Linked DNA regions of Homo sapiens: all the other regions are linked to region 1. The links are contacts of gene promoters, found by promoter capture Hi-C in blood cells and fetal thymus (Javierre and others, 2016). All regions are on one chromosome and are shown on one strand. Each heading gives the region's core, a stretch centred on a gene start or on the middle of the fragment in contact. The rest is flanking DNA. Distances are from core to core; before and after follow the strand shown.

What was found. The method cuts DNA at HindIII sites, captures the fragments that hold promoters and counts their contacts. A CHiCAGO score of 5 or more calls a contact.
Region 2: a fragment that was not itself captured here is called in contact with the fragment with the promoter of ZFAND6 in region 1 in 1 of 17 cell types (neutrophils); the score reaches 5.4 in neutrophils.
Region 3: a fragment that was not itself captured here is called in contact with the fragment with the promoter of ZFAND6 in region 1 in 2 of 17 cell types (megakaryocytes and erythroblasts); the score reaches 6.0 in megakaryocytes.

What each region holds. Positions count from the first base shown.
Region 1 is chr15:80,058,290-80,061,257 of GRCh38, forward strand. ZFAND6 (zinc finger AN1-type containing 6) reads left to right here and starts at 1,387. Exons shown (of 7, transcript NM_019006.4): 1 at 1,387-1,520. RefSeq lists silencers at 1,065-1,393, 1,090-1,959. The HindIII fragment of the contact is 4,474 bases long and covers 1-2,968 here.
Region 2 is chr15:79,843,898-79,846,865 of GRCh38, forward strand. ST20-MTHFS (ST20-MTHFS readthrough) reads right to left here. Exons shown (of 4, transcript NM_001199760.2): 4 at 1-1,545. The coding sequence ends at 1,313. It overlaps MTHFS (methenyltetrahydrofolate synthetase), which reads right to left. Exons shown (of 3, transcript NM_006441.4): 3 at 1-1,545. The coding sequence ends at 1,313. Among named protein-coding and RNA genes, the nearest start is that of MTHFS, 52 kb to the right of the region's middle. The HindIII fragment of the contact is 8,304 bases long and covers 1-2,968 here.
Region 3 is chr15:80,188,536-80,191,503 of GRCh38, forward strand. No RefSeq gene overlaps it. Among named protein-coding and RNA genes, the nearest start is that of FAH, 37 kb to the left of the region's middle. RefSeq lists an enhancer at 798-967. The HindIII fragment of the contact is 5,335 bases long and covers 1-2,968 here.

The DNA of each region.
Region 1 (2,968 bases), core at 137-2,636:
AATCTCTCAATCTCCCAGAACGAATCTGGAACAAAGGAAAGCAGTAAAGGTCATGTAAACCCAATTTCTGCAAATTCATAATAACTGCATATGAAAATCCAACTGGGTTAGGTGCTGGAGTTAATACAACGATAAACTGGACAAGAATCGGAAGAAAAATACATTTAAGACAAAATCCGTAAGACTTGACGCATAACCTTGCTAGTTCAAGAAGCTCTTTCACACATATTATGTTATTTAACCCCCACAAATAGCCTAACAAGTAGGTTTTATTACCATTCCAATCAGGCTTTTGTCCTCCACTTAAACTGTACTCCCCAAGGTGACTTCTGTGTTGCTAAATGCTCAACAGGTACTCACTTCAGGCACAACATTTAAGGGAGCACCAAAAAACTAAGTGATCAAGATGAATAACATTTTTATTTTTTAAAATTAAAATTAATGCAAAAAAAAAATCCATGAATAACAAAATACCAACATTTAAAATAAAGAGGATTCTCAGGACTGGGCTCGCCTACCTGGATGCCCTAACGGAACTCCTCATTCACAATAGGATTGAATGACCTCGAACTAAAGTGTCACGTACTTCCTGCTCGTGATGCTCGTGAGCCCGAACGAAGGCTGAAAAACTTCAGGGGGAGCCATTCTGCCTATCACCCCTAGTTCCAGCGCAGCAGCCCAGCGTGCACCACGCAGGTGGGAACTGACCCCGTGCTTTTGGAACAGGCTGGAACTGGGGGTGCTTGTGCCTGTGCATGTATGTATTGCACACGTGTGCATGCACGCTTCTCGTCTTGCTTCTATTTCCAAGTCCCAGTTCAGGACAGGGCAGAGAACTGCTTTCCAGTATGCGCCCTGAGCTCGGACTTTGCGCTTGCAGACTGAGGCGCCGGCCTGCATGGGAAGACAGAAGCTCAGAATTCCTTCCTGCACAAGTGGCAGGTGGAGTGCAACTCTTTTTGGTGCCTCAGTCCAAGACAGGGACACGCCATTCCCTGCGAGGTGGCAAAGGTACCTGAACCTACATAACCAAGCCCTTAAAGTCTCCGCGGCACCTCTTAATCGCCTTCCCGTAGCTATTGGAGGTAGAGAAACCGCGGCGGGAAGCGCCCCAGAGAGGGCAGTGGAGCAAGGGACACTGGAGGTGCAGAAGGCGGAGGAGCATCTCCTTTCGCTCCGCCCCGCCTCTTTTCCTGCCTCCGGCCAATTGCCGTGCGCTCCGAGCCTTGACCCCGCCTCTCCCCGCCTCCTCCGGCCTGCGGCCCCGCCCGCGCCGGTAATAATTAGCGGGCGGGCGGGGCCCGCGCGTCAGCCGCGGGAGCCGGCCAATCCAGTGGCTCTCCTCCGCGGTCGCGTCATAGGCCGAACAACCAAACAGAAAAGTTTAATAAACAGCGGACGGAGGGGCCGGCGGTGGCGGAGCCGGAGCAAGCAGGGGTTCGGCGGCATTACCTGTACCCATTCACCGGCGGCTACCGGCGGCGGCGCGCAGCGTGTCAGGCGGAGAGACCCGCCGCCAGGTGAGGAGCGCGGCCCGCGGGGCCCGGCTTGCCCGGCGCTGCCCCTCCCCCGCCTGCTCCCTTCCCCCACCCGGCTGCAGCTAGGCGAGGCCCGCCCCCGGCCCCTCCCGGCGCCCGAGAGCCGGAAGCGGAGGGCGGCCGGCCGGCGCAGCAGGTGGTGGGCCCGCGGGGGCCGCGGGCGAGAGGGCGAGGACTCCCGGCTCCGGGGGTGGGGGCCGGAGATCGGCGGGTTCACCTCAGACGGCGCGCGGGCGCCCGCGGCCGGGGGCCGCTTCCTGTCAGGGTGGTCGCGCTGGGGTCGGGAGCCTCAGTTCTTCAGGGCCGCGGAGGCCGCGACGCGCGCCGCCCCGAGCGGGTTGCGAGCGGTTGGCTGGCGGGGGTCGGAAGGGCCCCGGGCACACTGGGGCGCGTCAGTTCCCCGCCTCCTCCGAGTCTCAGGTCCTCTTCGGGATGTTTTTCCACCTGCGGCGTTTTTCAGAAACCAGCCGGAGGCAGCCCGGTGTCTCCAACTCCTGACTGGCACCGGGAAGGGAATTGGTCTCTTTTTTTCCTGCTTGGGTTTAGCTTGCTTAGGATTCTAAATTTTTTGTCTGCTTTTTTGAAATAGTTATATTTAAGTTTTAGCTACCTAAAAAAGTATGAAAGAATATTGTGTTTGAAATCTTTTTAACTTGGTTTTTAAGTCACGTGCTAACTATCCTACACAGTTGGGACGCTATGATTTACCTTCACATCTCGGAAGTTGTAACCAGTTGTGAGGAAGTTAGGACCTTGGGGTTACCTAAAGATAATTTATATTAAGTTGTTGGGCCATAAAAACTGGGCAGAATTGGCCACGCGCGGTGACTCAACGCCTGTAATCCCAGCACTTTGGGAGGCCGACGCGGACTAATCACGAGGTCAGGAGATCGAGACCATCCTGGCCAACATGGTGAAACCCTGTCTTTACTAAAAATACAAAAATTAGCTGGGTGTGGTGGCGGGCGCCGGTAGTCCCAGCTACTGGGAGGCTGAGGCAGGAGCATCGCTTGAACCCGGGAGGCGGAGGTTGCAGTGAACCAAGATCGCGCTACTGCACTCCAGCCTGGCGACAGAGGGAGACTCCGTCTCAAAAAAAAGCCGGGCAGAATTAATGATTTTGAAGCTCCGAGAAACAGGATTAAATTCCTCTTTCAAACCGAAATCGGAATTTGATTTTTTAAAAGTGTAAAATACCATAAACTTTTAAGGTTAGTTGTTCGGTAACCATGTCACCAATTTTAAGGCACTTTCTGAGTTGTGTATAGTTTCTCCAGAGCCCTAGGGGAAATGTTTTGCAAAATATGCACGTTTAGCTTTCCAAAACAAGTTGTCTTTTTTATTTTTACTTTTTTACGTTTTAAAATGTGTTTAAAGGGAGACATCACAAATGTGCAGGAGAAAATACAGGGGTCGGTGGATTTATTATC
Region 2 (2,968 bases), core at 201-2,700, 210 kb before region 1:
GATGCTAGGGCTGAGTCTTCAAGGGAAAACAGTCTTCTAGATGAACAACAGAAAGAGCATTTCAGACAGAGAGAAATGCATGCTTACTATGTGCAAAGGGCAGAAGCCTGCAGTGCTCAGTCAGTGTTACAGGAGAATACAGAGTTGGGAGAGAAGAGGCTAGAAAAAGTAGATGAGGAGACCTCTCTTAAGGGGCTTTGTATACAACAGAAGCCATCTGTTTGCTACCCAAGAGGCTCTGAACAGCCACCGGAAGACCTTAGTCAGGGGTGCTGCATGATTAGATTCGTGTTTTCTAAGATCAGTTTGACTGCAGCTTGAGAAATAAACTGGAAGAGGCAAGATGGAAGCCAAGGGAAGCAGGTGTGACACTCTCGCCTAGTCCAGCTTAGAAATGCTAAAAGGCTGGACAAAAGGAGTGACAGGAAAATTGAAAGGAGAGAATAGATTTAAGAGGCATTTCAGAGGCAAAATCAACAAGACCTGGTGACAGGATGGACATGGAGTGTGAGTAAGAGAGCCACGTGACTCCCGGGTTTCTGGAGATGACCAAATCCTCCCCACAACAAAATTATTGCTCCCTAGCTGTGTTGCCATCTGCCAACTTTCAACTCACAGCAAATTTCATTTCCAAAGCAGAAACCATGAGTAAACAGAAATAATTTCTAACTTATAAGATACTAGATCTTAAACTCATCAAGGGCTGATACATGCAGTGATGGTAACCAATCAGTGGAGTAAAAGTATTTAAATCATAAAAGGTTTCCCTCCACTAACCACCAAAAGCTACAAAGTGTCCAACATAAAATTCTAGAGTGGGTAAAGGAAGTCATGATGAAGTGAGATAATATTCTTAGGGAATTCTGTATCCAAAGCAAATACCAACAAATAAATTAATAGTCCCCAAGTCTCCATGTGCCTGCCAGGACAGACCAGGTCATGAAAGGCGTAATGAAATACAGTGCCCACTCCCGCAAGTTTACCTTCCTCTCGCACTCAGTCGGAGCACAGTTCCTCATAAATATTTAACTTAAATTGCAAAGTAGACAGATCAACTTGTCACATTAACACCAGGAAGTTAAGCTGAAAATCACAGGCTGATAGCCTCCATTTTAATTAATATTCTACTATTCACACTTCTATTGGTTTTTAAAGATGGTTTTATATAAGGTATTTCATAATTACAATTTTAAAATGCAGTCTGTATTCACATTAATGAACAATTTCAACTAATTTTTGACAAGGGAAAAATACACATACTTTGCTTTACTCTCATATAAAACACTGATTATTTGGCTGTAGTAATCCAGATTTAAGCTGTTGACGAGTCTTCGTAAAGGACTTCATCTACCTTCATGTCGTTTTCATTCACTGGGACCTGGAGGCAAATCTGTTCTTTGAAAGCCAACGCCAGGGTGTAGGGCTTCACTTCCTGATGCTGCAAACAGCGCTTCAGATAGGCATCATAGTAGCCCTTGCCCCTCCCCAGTCGGTTGCCATGTTTGTCAAACCCAAGGCCTGGCATGAAGATGAGATCAAGTCCCCCTGCGGAAAAGAGGAACAAATTTAAGAGGATTAATTGTTTCTGAAAGATCATTTCAGGATGTGTTTTTTGTTTTGTAATGACATCAATTCTTTCTCTGATTTCTAAAAACAATGTGTGACCATTAATATCCAAAAAGCACAGAGTTGGACAAAAAAGGAAATAAAACGTACTCAGCAACTTAGTTAAGTCTCTTATTCATCCTCAACAGATCTTTTACATATATCTGTACAAAAGTGCCAGATTCCCAGGCCTCATTCATAACTAGTTAAATACAGAGAATCTCCAGAGATAGGGCCCTCTTTTTTCTAGCATCCTGGTGATTCTCCATACCTGTCAGGTTTGGAAATCAATACCCCAGGATAATGACAGTTGGAGGGCGGGAAACAGTCAAGGAGGAGCCATAAAGGACAAAGCTGTTTCTCAGGGTCAGTGAGCAGAAAGAGAGTCCACTGTCAGGCATACCAAGCAGTTCAGACAGCCTACTCCCTCCTCATTTCCCCTCCCATTGGAGAGGCAAGGCCAGGCTGCCGGGCTTCCCCAGACTCGTGTGAGAGCAGGCTTTGACCTACTCAAGGAAAGGTACAAGATGGGGACCCACAACTAGTTCTCTGGCTACAACCCTCTCAAGTAACACGAAGACCAGAACTGGCTATGACATTATCAGGACAGAATGCTGGAGCTCAGGGTGGGAGGCAGGGTCCTGGAGGCTATAAAAACCCAACTGCAGTAAGGGTGTGTGGGGATTCCCATGAAGATGGCAATGAAGGTCACTAGGTGAAGAACCTCCATGAGGGAATGGTACTCCAGCCTCTGGCAAGAAACATGGGGTACCAGTGTCAGCATAAGAGCCACATTACATGTCAAACCCAGTAGTCTGCCCTGTAGCCTCCTTATACTGAGTCTTGGCCTCCTGACAGCTGTCCTGGGGGTTTCTGGGTGACCTATAGCTTAGTTGTGGAATAACCATTCATATAGCATTTGCTGGCAAGATATACCAGGGTTGGAAGCCATGAATTCTCCAGAACAGCATGTTCAGAGTAGAGAGGATCAGACTGCCAACATGGCTAGCCCCCACTATCAGCAGATATTCTGACTACCTGCAGAACTGTGAGGTGAACTCAGCTTCTCTCTAGCTCCCAGCATACACCTGGTCACCCCTGCCTGCCAAAATCCAGCAAAGCATGCCTCAGATTACAGTAATGACCTTCCCCTGTAAACCTCCTTGTCTATTCCAATCCCAACTTTCTAAAAAGGTCCTGGTCACTGACCTCTGTCTTTCCTCCCTGTTCCTGTCCAGCTCATTTGTCCCTCTTGGGATTGACAGTGGACTGTGAATTTGGACTTTACTCCCTCGTGTCCTCTTTCTGTTGCCAGAGCACCATCAGGCTTGAAGTTCAGTTCTGTCTTCTATACCTAGAACAC
Region 3 (2,968 bases), core at 313-2,812, 130 kb after region 1:
CACAGGAGTGACTCATCTTTTTCTCAAAGCCCTCACCTGCACATGGATAAAAGGCCCTCGTGCTCTGCACAGTAGGGCTTTACTGGAGATCTCTGGGTCACAGGCAAAGGTCACTTAAAATCATTGTTAATCCACTTGTTCCCACTGGCACCAGAGAATGCTGGTGTCATCAGTAGAGATCACACGCTTATCCCCTTGTTGGGCATTTAATGCACTTAAAGGGCTTGGTGATGTTGGGAAAACCCAATGGACCTGCCCCAGAGTCTGAAACACACACAGGGCAGAAAGAGCCAGAAACGTTCCTGGCATCAGATTCACTTAAGAAACCAAACTCATGGATGTTAATTCTGGGTCCAGCCTGGGCTTTACTTGGCAATTACTTTTCCTTAATCTTCAGCGACAAGAGCCTCTTTGTTTTACTGTCTCCGACTCCAGAAATGCTCACTGCCAGCCCCACATGACAAGTGACTTTAATGGTCTTTAGTTTTGGAGATCTACTTTATTGAAACCTATCTGTGTGTAATAATATGAAATAGACAAGAATGACTTTCAGGGTCAAATTTCCTCTTTTTGACAGTGATATTTTAAGGACTAGAAGCATTTTGACCAGATGAATGGAGCTTTCAGACGGGATGATGAGCATCTCAAGGCAGGTTGGCCATAGTTATCACTATATCTTCCTTATTAATTTGTATTCCATTTATGCTTCCTGTTTTTAACCAGTGGTCCATTCGGAATATGAATGGATGACTGTGAAACTGAGAGTAGAGTTCATTTGAAACTTTACCTGACCAGGAGGAGTCAGTCCAGAGGTGTTTCTGGCAAGATGGGGCCCACTGCTGGTTTTATTGTAGGGTGGCAAGGGAGCTAGGCTCAGGGGCACGCTACTGCCCGGGGCCAGGGCAGGCACTAGGGGTTCCAGGGGCTGGGAGCCCCTGTCCCTATTGCAGAGGGGACTGGAGGAAGAGAAGCCTTGTTGCCCCCACCATGGGACTTCTCTGTCCTGAGGCCTCTCACACACATTGGTTTACCTTTGAAACACTGTACATTGAGAGCTCTCCTGAGGGTGAGTGTAGACTTGAACCAAGACAATGTTTTTGAGGACAAGGGAACTTTAAGGATTTTTTCTGTTTTTTTGTTTCGTTTTGTTTTTTAATTTTGAGAAAGGGTCTCACTCTGTCACCTAGGCTGGAGTGCAGTGGCACAATCTTGGCTCACTGCAGCCTTGACTTCTCTGGCTCAGGTGATCTTCCCACCTCAGCCTCCCAAGTAGCTGAGACTACAGGTGCACACCACCATGGCCAGGTGATTTTTTGATTTTTTATAGAGACGGGATCTCACTATGTTGCCCAGGCTGGTCTTGAACTCCTGTGCTCAAGTGATCTTCCTGCCTTGCCCTCCCAAAGTCCTGGGATTACAGGCATGACACACCATGCCTGGCAATTTTGGGGTGTAAAGTATCACAATTAATATTATCTCAAAGATTCCTGACACCAAAATGGATCTCAAAAGTGGTTCTATTTTCACATTTTCTCCCTTTCTTTAGTTTGGAAGCATATTCCCTTTAACACCCCCAGAAAAAGTAATTTGGCAGGGTTGTATCCTGAAGTACTAATTTGTTTTCTGTGTATCCCCTCTCTTTCTGTCCTCTCAGCAAGATTTCCAGGGCTGTGGGAGTATTTTGCTCTCCTTCCTCCTGCAGAGAGGCAGAAAGAAACTCGTGGGAGAGGGACCAAGACTGGATGCTTGCTTGCAAGCCTGTTTTTGTTTTTTAAAATTCTGCTCTTGAAAACTAAATAAGGCTGAGGCCAGTCTTATTTTCAGACTGTTTGCCAACAGCACACCAAAAAGTTGGAGTGACAATTTCTTTCTTGGAGAGGGAATGGAGTAGCATGGCACATCTATTCCCACCAAGGTCATGATCCTGGAAATAAATAGACCTTTGTTGTCTATGATGATTTGATCAATATCTGCCTTCATTGGATTTTCAGCTCCTTGAGGATAGTCTGCTTTTGCTTACTGAAAGTTCATCAGTACCTAGCACGTAAGAGCCGCTCGATGTATACTCATTCAGTAAGTGAATGAATTCTAGGAGAGCACTGGGAGCAGATTGTGTCTTATTGATAGGTCTACTTCTAGCATTTGCAGGGCCTAAGCTGAGAGTGCTCATGGAGTCTCAGTATTTAGGAGGTATAAACAAGCTATACACTGTTAAATAAAATACTTTCTATTCTCCTACCTAGATATGTTTGCTTTCATAATTGCAAAACAAACATATTTGCAAAGTGATGGCTTTTATGTGATTGAAAATTGGTAAAATATACAACTAAACTTAATTATCACCGCACTTGAAGAAAGTCGATGGGATGGCAATGTTTGGATGAGCATTAAAGACATAAATTCATGAATTTTATACTTTATACATTTTTAAAATCAGACTTTAATTTTTACAATTATTTTTCTTTCTTTAATTTCATTAGAATCATTAATTATGCTCTCCTGAGCTTTTCATATAATGTGTGGTTTATTGATGATATAAAAGATTAAAAAGTACATTGAATTATACTTCAGTGTACAAGAAGTAAATATCTTCATCAAAACTCTGTGTTAAAAATTGAAAAATTAAATTTTTCATATGCATTTTCAAAGTTAGTTTTCTTTGAAAATATTCAAAATTATTAATAATAAAAAGCGAGATACAAATAATTAAAGAGCTTTAATATTTAATCTCAAAATTCTTTAAATCAAAATGAAATGTCTAAATTCATTTTTTGAAAATGTAATAAAATCTGTTTTTGTTTTGTTTTTTGATATGGGGTCTCACTATGCTGCCCAGGCTGGCCTCAAACTCCTGGGCTCAAGGGATCATCCTGCCTCAGCCATCTGAGTAGCTGGAATTACAAGCCCGTGTCACTGCACCCAGCTCAAAAAAATTAATTAAATCTTATTAAATATATTTTATAAAAAC